3 separate regions of the Homo sapiens genome follow, and all the other regions are linked to region 3. The links are contacts of gene promoters, found by promoter capture Hi-C in blood cells and fetal thymus (Javierre and others, 2016). All regions are on one chromosome and are shown on one strand. The core of a region is centred on a gene start or on the middle of the fragment in contact, and the rest is flanking DNA. Distances in the headings are between cores, read along the strand shown.

Evidence for each region. Contacts are between HindIII fragments. The CHiCAGO score rates a contact against its expected background, and 5 or more counts as called.
Region 1: a fragment that was not itself captured here is called in contact with the fragment with the promoter of RHOC in region 3 in 1 of 17 cell types (monocytes); the score reaches 5.3 in monocytes.
Region 2: a contact is called between a fragment that was not itself captured here and the fragment with the promoter of RHOC in region 3, in 1 of 17 cell types (neutrophils). The highest score is 5.4, in neutrophils.

The regions. Positions count from the first base shown.
Region 1 is chr1:113,705,593-113,709,955 of GRCh38, forward strand. It overlaps PHTF1 (putative homeodomain transcription factor 1), which reads right to left. Exons shown (of 19, transcript NM_001323043.2): 12 at 1,002-1,130; 13 at 298-570. Among named protein-coding and RNA genes, the nearest start is that of PHTF1, 52 kb to the right of the region's middle. The HindIII fragment of the contact is 1,532 bases long and covers 1,539-3,070 here.
Region 2 is chr1:113,746,138-113,750,737 of GRCh38, forward strand. All of the region lies in intron 3 of PHTF1 (putative homeodomain transcription factor 1), which reads right to left. Among named protein-coding and RNA genes, the nearest start is that of PHTF1, 11 kb to the right of the region's middle. RefSeq lists a silencer at 3,290-3,584. The HindIII fragment of the contact is 3,984 bases long and covers 1-3,435 here.
Region 3 is chr1:112,704,135-112,708,440 of GRCh38, forward strand. RHOC (ras homolog family member C) reads right to left here and starts at 2,993. Exons shown (of 6, transcript NM_175744.5): 1 at 2,944-2,993; 2 at 966-1,034. RefSeq lists enhancers at 102-656, 1,404-1,453 and a silencer at 2,713-3,432. The HindIII fragment of the contact is 12,151 bases long and covers 18-4,306 here.

The sequences.
Region 1 (4,363 bases), core at 1,055-3,554, 1.0 Mb after region 3:
ATGGATAAAAAACAAAAAAGGGACACTGAGGTGCAGATGCTAAGCAGTCGGCTAGGCTCACTCACTGGCTAAGCCACTTATTCTACACATGAGGCCTGGCAAAATTTCAGATTACAACGTGTAATATGTAAATAGTCAATAACACAAACAATAAATCCACAAATATCAAAAGTCCACTTATCAATCCTTTATTGCCCACATCAACTTGAAGAGAGACCAAATCAAGAGAACAAAAGCAACTCAATGGAATATCATATACAAAAACAGGTAAAAAATTTTCCTTATTTCTCCACTGACCTGTTTATATGTTCTCTCTGCCACACACATCATGAAAAAAAACATCCAAGTAAGACACAATCTTTCAAAAAAATTAATTATCGACAAAACAATAATAGGTGTAACAGGTGGTGCCCCACAAAAGAGAGTCAAGATCTCCTCAGCTGAAATGGACTTTAGTTGGTCAAGGCTCTTCTCACGGAAAAGTCGATGTAAGAATGGAAAAAATGCTAATCCAATAGTGACAACATTTCCCAGCATCTGATAACCTACTCCTTGCTGATAGGCATTGACCTGTGAATTAATTTAAAATTTCCACCATTATTGTGTTAGCTAAATGGAGTTACAAAGCAGTATTTATCAAACACTATTTAGACTATTAAAAACACATTCTAAAAGTATAAATACAAATGACATACAGATTTATGACTTTCAAATCTTATTAAAAATTGGGATTCAATGAGATAAGGAATATCTGTAGAGCATACCTGAACAGTTGATTATGTTAATAGAGACCAGGTATAACAAATAATGTATATACTACCATGTAAAGACTCTGACTACAAAATTACATATATATGTTAATAATGTTATTATATATAATATGATATATATGTGCTTCAAAAGCAGAGTCATACTGTTTTAATCACTAAGAGATTCTTATAAAATAGCTCCTGATCACTTCGTATATTTTTTGAAAAATCTGAAAACATATTCAGTCTTACCCTGCTCATGATGATGCCACTTATTTCCAACACAGACATATCCATCTTTTTGCACTCATTCCCCTCCCAGATTATTGCACTAACTCGATCAGAGGAAGGACTTGAATTCTGAAGCCAGAATAAATGATTCTGAGAAGAAAAATATAAAATTGTTTCTATCCATGCCCTCTTGCCTCCATTAGTTTTTCTTTCCCAGGCTCCATTCATTTGCCAACACTCTAATAACCACCTCTATAATGCTGGTCCTTTCTTTCTTTCTTTTTTTTTTTTTTTTTTTTTTTTGAGACAGGGTATCACTATGTTGCCCAGGCTGGTCTCAAACTCCTGGGCCCAAGCAATCCTCCCATCTGCCTCCCTCTATACAGCCTTCTGTGTAGCAAGGACCATAGGCACATACCACCATGGCTCGCTAGGTCCATTTTTCCTTACTAAGCCATTCTCTCATCTAGAGAGAGACTAAATGTCTTCTGTTATGAGGAGAGATAGTCCATGATCTCCAAGGTTGCTTCCCTCTCTAAAGGTATGGAAGTGAGGATAAGCTTAGTGTAGTCATGGGCTATTAAGAAAGAATTTCTAGAGCTACGAGATTACACTGGGAGTAATAGGAAGTAAAGGAAGAGAGATACTAAAAGGCCTTATAAATCACATGAATGACTGAGGAGTTAAGTCTGTTTCTGGTCTAACCAGGACACAAAATTAGTGAGGCTTAGAAAAGCTCAAGTGGAGACAGTCACAATGAAAACAGCTCCCTCTCCTCCTCTGCCATATCATGTCTTATTCTTTAAATACTAGCTCAAGTCCCATTTCACCAACATGGTCCTCTCTGACAGCCTCAGTCTTACTAACTTTGCCCTTCTCTGAAATGAAAAACTTCTACAGTCTGTATCAGACAAATTAACATCTTATTATATGGTGCTTTTATGTTGTCCTCTATTTGTTTCCTATATAATTATCTTGTTCCCAAACTAAAAGATAATCTTCTAGAAAAGGACCATCTGGCATATTTTTTCTCTTCTACCACCATGCTTAGCATAATGCCAACAAGTATTTATTGATTTGAATCACTGACTTGATTGATTCACTGACTTATACAATTCATATTAAGCACCTACTATGTATCATGCATGTGGATAAAATGGAGAACAAGATAGATGTCCTTGCTATCAAGGAGCTTATAGACTTCTGAAGGAAGTTACTATACAGCATGGTAAGGAAAGGCAAGAGTGCTTTAGGAGTATATAAGAAAGGCTTCCTGAAGGAAGCATCACTCAAGCCAAGACCTGCCTGGAAATAAAAAGGAATGAACCAAAAGAATTGGCATTAGAGAAAATTATGTCCCAGGCAAAGAAACCTGTATGCATAAGGGCCCAGAGGCACATGAGGCCTGGTACACATCAGAAACAAAGAAGGTTAGTTGAGTCGAAGTTCACCATGTGAGGAGGAGGGAGGGAATGGTCAGAGATGAGACTGTATTAGAACAAATAAAGGAACAGAAGCAAGCAATCCAGAAAGAAGAAAAAAGGATTTTAAAGGAAGTGGCATTATCAGATTTGTATTTTAGAATTATCACTCTGGCTGTAGCAAGGAAAATGAAAGGAACAGAGGCAACCCTACAGAAGCTACTGTAATGATCCAGTTGAGATAAAATGATGGCCTGCACCAAGCAGGGTGACCAGAAACAGAGAGATGCAGGTATTTAGACAGCTGAATCAAAAGAACATAAGCGACTAAGGGTGGAAAGAATGGGGCCAGCTGGGCGCGGTGGCTCACGCCTGTAGTCCCAGTACTTTCGGAGGCCGAGGTGAGTGGATCACTTGAGGTCAGGAGTTCGAGACCAGCCTGGCCAACACAGCGAAACCCCATCTCTACTAAAAATACAAAAATTAGCCAGGTGTGGTGGCAGGCGGCAGGCACCTGTAATCCTAGCTACTCAGGAGGCTGAGGCAGGAGAATCACTTGAGCCTGGAAGGCGGAGGTTGCAATGAGCTAAAATTGTGCCAGTGTACTCCAGCCTGGGTGACAGAGTAAGACTCCATCTAAAAAAAAAAATGGGGTCAAGAATGACTTCAAGCTTTTTGACTTGGGTGGGTAGTGTGGTATTAAGAAATACAGGGAATAAAAGAATAGGCTACGTGAACAGGATTGGAAAATGATTTATTGCATTTGACATGGTGAGTTTACCACACTCAATTATTCTTATATATGTCTTAAAATTATACTGCAAATCTCAAAGGAGGGGAGTGCTACGGAGATCAACATCATCGTGATACTATGCATAACTACTGAAAACTAATGTAATTTAGATGAATCTTCAGACTGAATGCAAAAAATATTTAGCCTCACTGCAAAATCAGAAAAAGTAGCATAAAATTTTAATGAGAGCCAGGTATGGTGACTCACCCCTGTAATCCCAACACTTTGGGAGGCTAAGGTGGGAGGACTGTTTGAACCCAGGAGTTAAGACCAGCCTAAGCAACATAGTGCGACCCTGTCTCTACAAAAAATTTAAAAATTAGCCAAGCATGGTGGCTAATCAGGAGGCTGAGGTGGGAGGATCACTTGAGCTGGAGAGGTTAAGGCTGCCGTGAGTCATGATTGCACCACTGCACTCCAGCCTGGGCAACAGAGTGAGCTCTGTCCCAAAAAAGAAAACTTTAATGAGAAAATTTACACTGTTTCTTGTTCATTTTTTAAAAATTATATACATTTAATGAAGCGATTTTTTAAATGAAAATGTATAACCTAAATCAATGGTATTTTTGAATCAAGAATATTTGACAATTAAACAAATATATATCCATCATCCACTATTTGCAAGACAATGTGGAAATATTTAGCCTAAAGAACAAAAACCTAAGAATCATAACAATCATTGACATTAAGCAACTGAAAGGTTGATAAGTGAACTATTTCTTCATCATTCAATCTATCCAGAAGTGGAATAAGCTGTATCATTAAATAACAAGCATTCCAGCTCCAGAAGTATTTAAGAGGCCAATTGATCATCTGATGGAGATATAAATAATAATGCTAACATTTATTGGGTATTTACTCTTGCCAGGTATTATGCTATGTACTTTATATTATCTCATTAGCTATTTCACACTATTCCTAAGAAGTAAGAACTATTATCACCACATAACAGATGGTAAAAAATTTACACAGATGTAGAATGAATCTCTACATTGGTTGGAAGGTTGAAATACCTTCTAATGGCTATCTGACTTTATGATATTAATATAAAACCTGAAATTAAAAGCATTATTTATTTTATGCATTGTTCAAAAAGCAAGCAATACCATTTCCTAGTAATTCATATGTAACACTGTGATGTTCATGAAAATATAAGGTATATTCTCTAT
Region 2 (4,600 bases), core at 194-2,693, 1.0 Mb after region 3:
AGTTTGCCAACCAGATGAGTAGACAATAGGTTAGACCAGGTAATTAGAAGCGTGAACTGGGAAGAGTACTCATATTCAAAAGATATTTAGCAGGTATCATCCAGAAGTATTGGTAACTGAAAATGTGAGATTAGTGTGAAGGTGAAGAACTCTAAACCCTGACTTCAGTACTTTAGCAATTCACTGAATAGGAAAGGTAAGAAAATGAAAAGTATTGGGTCATGGGAGGAAGGTCACATTCAGCTCACATTCCACTGGCCAAGCAAATCCCCTGACTAAGGTGGAAGTCTGTGGGGCCAGGAAGAATTCTTCTCTTATAGGAAGGCACTGCAACTCACATGACAGTAAGTGCAGCCATATAATCTTCTTACAGGTAAGAATAATTACAGGTAGTGAATAATTAGGAAAATTACTATAATATACAGTTCAGTCCATCTGACTCTAAATTTCTTGCCTAAATGCTAAGGAGATTTGTTGGTTTTGGCACCGGTATAAATAAAGCATATTGGTATAGCCAATATACGTAAATACTCACATACCTCTAAATCTACCTATCGCATATGGAAATATATGTATATCCTATTACTCAGGTAACATCATTTAATGTATTATTTGGTTTTGGAGGAAAAATGTTGTAAAATTAAATCTTTATTTGTACTAAAATAATACTCATATTACAAGGTTAATAAAAAATAACATTCCAGTCTCACCCTTCCTTACCCTTGATTCATACATCCTAGCTATTTCTTCTCTTTACTTCTAAAACAAAAAATGTTTACAGTGCTTTCATCAATTTCAGATGTTATCCATTCATTTCTTACTGTTGAAGATGAGGAAATAACTCTTATTTAGCCTTTCTATGCCTCAATTCCTTCACCTATAAAAAAGGGAAGATAATAGCACATACCTCATAAGATTATCATGAGGATCAATTGTGTGTGTTGCTTAAAACAATGCAAGACATACTACACACTATTAATGATTACAGCATCACCAAACACGCACGCCCTCCTGAACTATAGTTTTTTCCAATAGAGTTTTATCACAAATTTTTGTTACATCAATGTTTAGAGGGTTATAATTACATAAATATTGTTCACAGCTAAGCCAAGTAGTGAACTATTATATTTTCCTCTCACAAATTTTTTGCTTGTCCTAGAACTGTAATTGCCTCATTTTTTAATGCACTTAATCTTCTATTACTAATTCATCTTTAAACTCCCTCTGTTACATATCTGCTTCCAATATGCTCGAACACAACATATATCAGTTTAGTTTTCCCCCTTCAAGAGTTCTATATCAATTTTCTGTCCTCATACTCCATTCTGGACTGGTTGTTTTCTAGGTCAGATATAAGGTATCATCCTGAGACATTTGCAATTATCCTGGAATTCCTTTTACTTTGCTGTGTTGGCTGTCCTGTTTTCTGACACTATGAATTCCTTTCTGGCTTATTCATGGATTATAATACAGTACATGTCCTCCCACAGCTTTCTGAGAGAGGGAGTATGGGATATGAATTTTGAGACTCTAAGTTCAAAATATATCAGTGGTGCCTTTGCACTTGATTAATAATTAGGCTGGGCATAAAACTTCAGGTTGAAAATCACTTTCTCTCATGTGCCATTGTCCCTCACCTTCCACTGAACATTCCATTATCTTTTAGCTTCCAAATGAGCTAGAAGTTGCTGCTGAGGGGCAGTATCTCTGACTCCCAATTTTTGTCTACATGATCCGTTTTGATCCTTCACTCTACTCCATGCTTAACCCAAGCTCTAATTCTAAATGTTCTGAAATTTCATGATAATGTTTCTCAGTGCTGATGACTCAAAAGATCCTTTTATTTTCCTTTTTCTTTTGAGACAGAATCTCGCTTGTCGCCCAGGCTAGAGTGCAGTGTTGTATTCACGGCTCTCTGCACCTTTGAACTCCCAGGCTCAAAGGACCCTTTCACCTCAGCCGTCTGAGTAGCTGCGACTACAGGCACACACCACTACACCCAGCTGATTTTTAAATTTTATTGTAGAGATAGGATCTCACTTTGTTGCCCAGGCTGGTCTCAAACTCCTGAGTTCAAGGGATCCTCTTGCCTCAGCCTCCCAAAGTGCTAGGATTACAGGCGTGAGCCACCATGCCCAACGAAAAGATCCTTTTAATCTGGAAATACATACACAGTACTGCATTTCTGGGGCAATTTTTAAAATTATTTATTAATTTCTTCTTCTCCATGTATTTCCTTTTTCTGGAACATCTATTAGTTGGATATTACATTTCCTGCATGAATTGCACTCACTTTGCTATTTTCTTTTTTGTTGTTCATTTTTATACTACTTTTCTGGGAAATGGTCTCAAATTTATCTTCTAACTTTTCCACTGAATTTATTTTAATTTTTATTTATTTATGTGTTTATTTTTGAGACAGGGTCCCACTCTGTCACCCAGGCTGGAGTGCAGTGGTGCAATCACGGCTCACTGCAGCTTCGACTTCCCAGGCTCAGATGATCTCCCACCTCGGCCTCCTAAGTAGCTGGGACTACAGGCATGCAACGCCAAGCCCAGCTAATTTTTTTGTATTTTTTGTAAAGACAGGGTATCACCATGTTGCCCAAGCTAATCTTGAACTCCTGGGCTCAAGCGATCAGCCTCGGCCTCCCAAAGTGCTGAGATTACAGGCGTGAGCCACTGTACCCAGCCACCCCTGAATTTATTCTGATTATTTTTATTTTCTAGTCTTCTCACTTTCTAATCTATAGTCTATTTTTTAAGCATTCTTAATTTTTAAATTGACAGATAATATTCTATGTATTCAGTGTGTACAACATATTCTGAAGTGGATATACACTGTAGAATGACTAAATTAATATATACATTACCTCACATGGTTATTATTTGTGTGGTGAGAACACTTAATATCCACTCTCTTAGCATTTTTCAAGAATACAACATACTAACTATAGTCACCAATGTTATACAATAGATGTCCTGAAGATATCTCAGTCTTTTTATAGTATCCAGTTCTTTAAAGGTAGTAATTATATCTTTAAAAACACTGTTTTTATGATTCCTGCATTGCTTCTTTTCTCTTTTCTTCTTTTTCTTTAGGTCTTAAATATTTGATGATCTTTAATTATCCATTTATAATTAACAGTCACTAACACACTGAATGCAAGCTCAGTGTGCAATGCGTGAAGCATTTTGAATAGTGGACCTCACTATAGAGGCGTGGCCAGTCATTTCACTTTTCAGTATCCTTAGGTTCTCTTTGGTTACTCAGTTTTGACGAAAAGAAATTCCAGTCTTCTGTTTGCAGATTATAAATCTGACGACCAGACTTTCACTTAATCCCCATTATTAGTGCAGCATCTCACCAGACTCTGATTTGTTTCTGGTCTTCCAGAATCCAGAACTTCTCTGGCTCAGCCTCTCCAGAGAGCAAGCTTCAACCCGGTCTTCTGTCAGAGGAAGATAAGGGTAACTATGTGGCTACATGGAATAAGGAAGATCTGGGGGTAGATCTATTATCCCTTATACACATGTTCAAACAATCCTGTCTTTAGTTCTTTCTCACTCCTACAGATTATACCTGATACATCTAATTCCTGAGTCTTTCAGAAGTTAATTACAGGGGTTTTACTTGTTTCCTATTGGCTTTCCCTATTGCAGGCACTTAAGAGTTTTACTTCTTTCATTTTCCAACCTTCGAAATTGTATTGATAGCTCTCATTTACTGTAGTCTCTTCTTCCATTCTTTAAGTCCTTGCAGGCTGCCATGATTTTTTCTTATCTGTTGTACTTTTAAAGAGGTTTCAGGAGAGATTAGTGCATGTATTTGAACTACCATTTTTTGGGTTTTGTTTTGTTTTTGTTTTTTTTTCAGGACAGGGTCTTGCTCTGTCACCCCGTCTAGAGTGCAGTGGCACAATCATAGCACACCACAGCCTCAAACTCCTGGGCTCAGGCGATCCCCCCCAACCAGCTTCCCCAGTATCTGGGACTACAGGCACATGCCCACCACACCCAGCTAATTTTTTTATCTTTTTGTAGAGCTATGTTGCCCAGGCTGGTCCCAAACTCCCGGCCTCGAGCAAAAACCTCGGCTTCCCAGAGTGCTGGGATTATAGGCGTGAGCGACCACGCATGGCCTCAAACTGTCATCTTTAATGAGGAGTGTCAGTGTCATCTATCATATGGCCACCATCCTGCTTAAATAAAACATTATAAATACAGCTGAAGTAGTCTCTGTGCTTCTGATTAGCCTTTTTTATTCTCTAAATACAAAACCATGCTATCTTCAAACAGTGATTTTTGTTCACTCTAATATTAATTTTTAAAAATAAAACACACAAAAAAGAAAAGATAATATTAATTAATATTAATTAGAATGTTTTGCTCATCTTAGCAAATGTATCTCAAACAGTATGCTAAAGAGTAGTAAAAGGGGCCAGGCGTGGTGGCTCACGCCTGTAATCCCAGCACTTTGGGAGGCCAAGGCAGGCAGATCATGAAATCAAGAGATCGAGCCATCCTGGCCAACATGGTGAAACCCCACCTCTACCAAAAATACAAAAATTAGCTGGGCATGGTGGCGTGCGCCTGTAAT
Region 3 (4,306 bases), core at 1,743-4,242:
GGGACGTCCAGGGAGCAAGCTTCTATCTACTTCACACATCAGGGTTTCGAGTCAGACTTCATTGGTTACCAGGATTTTGATGCATTTACAGTTTAATAATCTCTAAGGTCCAATCTAGAACAGACTGTCCCTCAGCACAAGTCATACCTGTCCAGTCACAAATGAGGAGTCCCTCTCTAGGACCAGAGTAGCAGAACCAGCTACCAGGTGGTAGGTGGGTAAAGGAAGAATAGTTATAGAGCCCCTAGGTGCCAGGCACTCTGTCGGGCATTTTGGCAGGAATTATCTCCTTCGGTACCCAGATGCCTGGAAGGTAGATGGTGCACTTTCCATTTTGACAAACCAGGAAACTAAGGCTCAGTGAGGTTAAGACAGATTCAGAGCTGTGGCTTATAAGGGGCAGGGACAGCACCCAAAGCAGGACTGTGTGACTCAAAGTCGTGCCTCTTCGACATGTCACCTCAGGGGCAGGAGGGAGAGCAGAAGCAGGGAAACCCAGACAGAGGACAGGGGTAGCAGCCAGCCAGCTTCCCTGGTCCACCCCACCCGGTCCCCAAAGCCCCAAGTAATACAAAGGAGGCTCAGTCCCAGCAATGCCCACAGCTCGAGTTTGGGCAGGCTGCCTTCCTCCCCCCTTCCTCCTAGGCCTGCCAGCAACACTGGGTCACTCAGCCCCCGGCAGGGGACAATGACCACACTGTAGGGAGCCACACATCTACCACAGCACAGTGACTGAGAAGAATCCACCAGGGAATCACCTCCACCCACTCTGGAACAGCCCCTTCCTCCCTCAGTCCAGCTCACCCGCATGCCCTGCCCACCCCTCCCTGTGACTCAGGGCAAGGAGTCAGCTTCCCGGGCTTCCATGTGTCCCCCACCCCCAGCACACACAGCGAGCATCTGCACAGTTCATCACACCTTCGCAGCTTCCCTCACTTCCTCCTTCCCTGGGGAGGGGAACTGACCTCCAGCCGGCTGAAGTTCCCAGGCTGCAGGAAGAGAGGGCGGGCTCTGGAGCTGAGATGAAGTCAAGGCTGTTGGGAAGGGGGAGGGGGCTAGAGTCTGGGCTGGGAGGAGCCCCAAAAGAAGAGACAAATGAGGGCCAGTCCCAGCACCAACCAGGCAGGGAGCAGTTAAGAAAGCGACGGTAACCTGATCTCAGCCTCAAACCTAGCTTTTTCTCTCAGTCCCACATCCTGTCAAACTGGGCTGACTGAACGCCTCTACTCCCCACACCCCACCACCACCTCACACTGCCCTTTAGGAAGCGAATACTCCAGCCCCAGGCCTCTTCCCTTCAACATAGATCCTGAGTGGCCCTTCCCTTGCCTCCAGACACATTCACAAAACTGTTGGTTTTGTGGACATGAGTCAGAGAATTTACAGGAGTTCAAAGTACACAGCCACACTCTTCCCACCACAAAACGGACTCTCTCTGATTCCCCAGAAGACAAGCAAGAAGGCATTCACCCTGTCGGCAGATCGCCTCCAGAAATGGAAACCATCCTCCAAAAAGAGGGTTCCTTGGGAATTCTATCCCGGTGACTGACGCTGGGATTTCTTCCAACTCCTCCACCCACTCCATTAGTTCACCTTGCCCTGTTTTGTAAAGATGGGCTGGGGTAGCCCCAACCTGGGGTGGGCAGTGTTGATGGAGGGCAATCACTACTGGGGTGAAAGCCAGTCACTTAGGCATGAGTATGCCACTGCTGTCCCCCCAGCAGGGTAATTCAGACGGCACCAGAGTGGTGGGAGGCAGAGGACAGAAACCCGGGGTTGAGGCATGCGTTAAGGGACCTGGAGCCTCCAGCCCAATTAGAAGACTTTCCCTCCAGGCTATGATTGGGCCAGAACAGCAGGCAGCCCAGGCCAGGACACTAGGCCCAAGGCCAAGATGGCATGGACAACTCCCTGTGAGAGGCAGCCCCAGAGGGACTGTCCCACTGACCCCTTAAGAGGGGCAACTGAGCCCCACACAGGGCCTGGAATGGAGCCTGGAACTTCTGGGGCCTTCCCCAAGACAAGACAGTGTGGCTACATCAGACCTCTCTCCAATCGCTCTCTTGAATTCCCAGATGATCCAGAGCGGCCGGTTGACTTTGCCGGCCCACCCTACACCTAGGGAAGGAATCCGTTCTGGAGATACCAAGAGATACTGCATTCTCAACTTTAAAACCAGAGTGAGGGCGGGACTCGGCCTCGGGATCCCAGTCCCAAACCCCAGGATACTCTTTCTTGGTTCGAGTATGAAGAAGGAGGATTCTCAATCTCATTTTCTCTCTCTCTCTCTCTCTCTACACACACACACACACACACACACACACACACACCACACACACACACACACACACACACACACACACACACACACACACACACACACACACACACACACACACACACAGAGTTGGATCCTTCCCCATCTCCCTTATCCTCAACACAAGCGGGCTCCAGGAACCGTCCAGGGCGGCGTCCAGACCCTGCCGAGCAGTGGCAGGCCCCAATGGTCACATCCCGCCCCTATTCCCGCCATACCTCCCTCCTGGCCTGGAGGAATTCCCACCCCATCCCACTCTAGGTCCCCTGCGGCCGCCCACCCTGGGGGCTGGGGCGTCTGAGTTGAAGTTCCCTCGCCCCTCGCCCGGCGGGGCAGGTTCCGGGAAGCTGGGAGGAGAAGGGAAGGGGCTCCGACTCGGACCTCAGGAGGCCAGAGCCCCTGCCGGCAGGTCCGGGCCCCCTCGCTGCAGCCCGGGGAGGGGCCGACGCGGTCCGACCACCGCCCAGCCCGGATGCCGACTCCGCTTGGAGGGAACGGGGTCCACGCCCAGGCCGAAGCCCCTCCTCGCACGGGCCCCGATCTCCGGGCCAGCGAGGAAGGGAAAGTGCTCTCCTGGGGACGAGTTCCCAAGACGCCCCACCGCCCGCAGCCCCGGCCCAGGGTACCTTCCGCTCCGCCGCCTCCAGCTGCGCGGCCGGTGCCGGAGGCTCAGACTGACCCCAGGGCCCCGCCCCGCCCTCCTCCAGCGCCGCGGCGGGGAGGGCGGGCCCGGCAGGGGGAGGGTCGGCCGGGGGCGGCCCTTGGCTCGGCCCGCCCCGGCCCCGCGCAGGGCCGCAGCCACCGGCCCCCTCCGCAGGCCGGGGACTGGGGGCCAGGGGCGTCCACCCCTCCAGGTCGGGGAGAGCCACGGGGAGATTCCTGGACTGCGGAGGAGCCGGGCGAGCGGGGGGAGCACGACCCGGGTGGACTCAGACTCTGCCCAGCCTTCAATCCCCTAGGGGAGGACCGGCGTCGGGAAAGTTAAGAGGTGCTCGGGGTGGGGTCAGGAAGGGCCGCTGCTGCCCTCCTGTGGCCAAGCGGCCACCCGCTCCTGCTGCACCTGGGACCTCGCGGGAAGCGGGACTGGGAAAGGGTATCCGCCGGGAGGTCCCAGGGCCCGGCGCGGGTGTGTTGGTTGGGGGGAGATGTCCACCCTCTTGTTCCTAGGATCGTACAGCCCAACGTCATCCCCCAAACTTGAAGACCTCTCAGAGCCGTTCAGACCCAGACCACCGTTCCTCCTCACAATTCGCTTTCTTCCCTGGGCCTGGAATTTCCAGGAGTCCAATTCCTACCTACTCCTCAAAGGGTGCGCCTAGAAATGCTTCTGGATCCCAGCTGTGAATTCTGTTCCCACTCCTAGGTCTGACTTGGCGCATAGGATATTTACCTACACGCGTATCTCCTTTCCCTGTAAGGGAGCTGAGGAGGTGGGAGTAGAATGAGGACGTCCACCAACATTTCATTGGCTTGTGCTTGGGACACTACACAGCTTAACCCTTTCAATATTCATCACAGATCTCTGGGGAAAATATACCCATCCCCTTTTGCCCATAGAGAAGCTGAGGTTCAGAGAAATCAAGTGGCTTACACAACTGTTTTTGACTTGTGACAGCAAGAATTCACACAGCCGGGCCTGTCTGGCTCCAAACTGGTGGTCTGGCCCTGCTACCTCACGGGCTCCTCCAGCCTGTCCCTTCCCCCGTTGTCTAGCAGAGTGAGTGGCACATAATAGGTTGTCAACAAATATTTGATGAATGAATGAATGTTAGGAGTCATACAGACTTTAAATATCTGAAGTGCAATCCAGACATTTGACAAATGTGAAAACAGGTCCGCAGCAGTTTGGCCCCAGGCCTCTTAACTGACTCAATGAACATTTCTCGAGGGTGAACTGAGAGCTATGTTCGGAAGATCCATTTCTGCCTTCAAACAACTTAGAGTCTAAATGAGGAATGCAATTTCAAGATAGCTAACATTTATTGAATC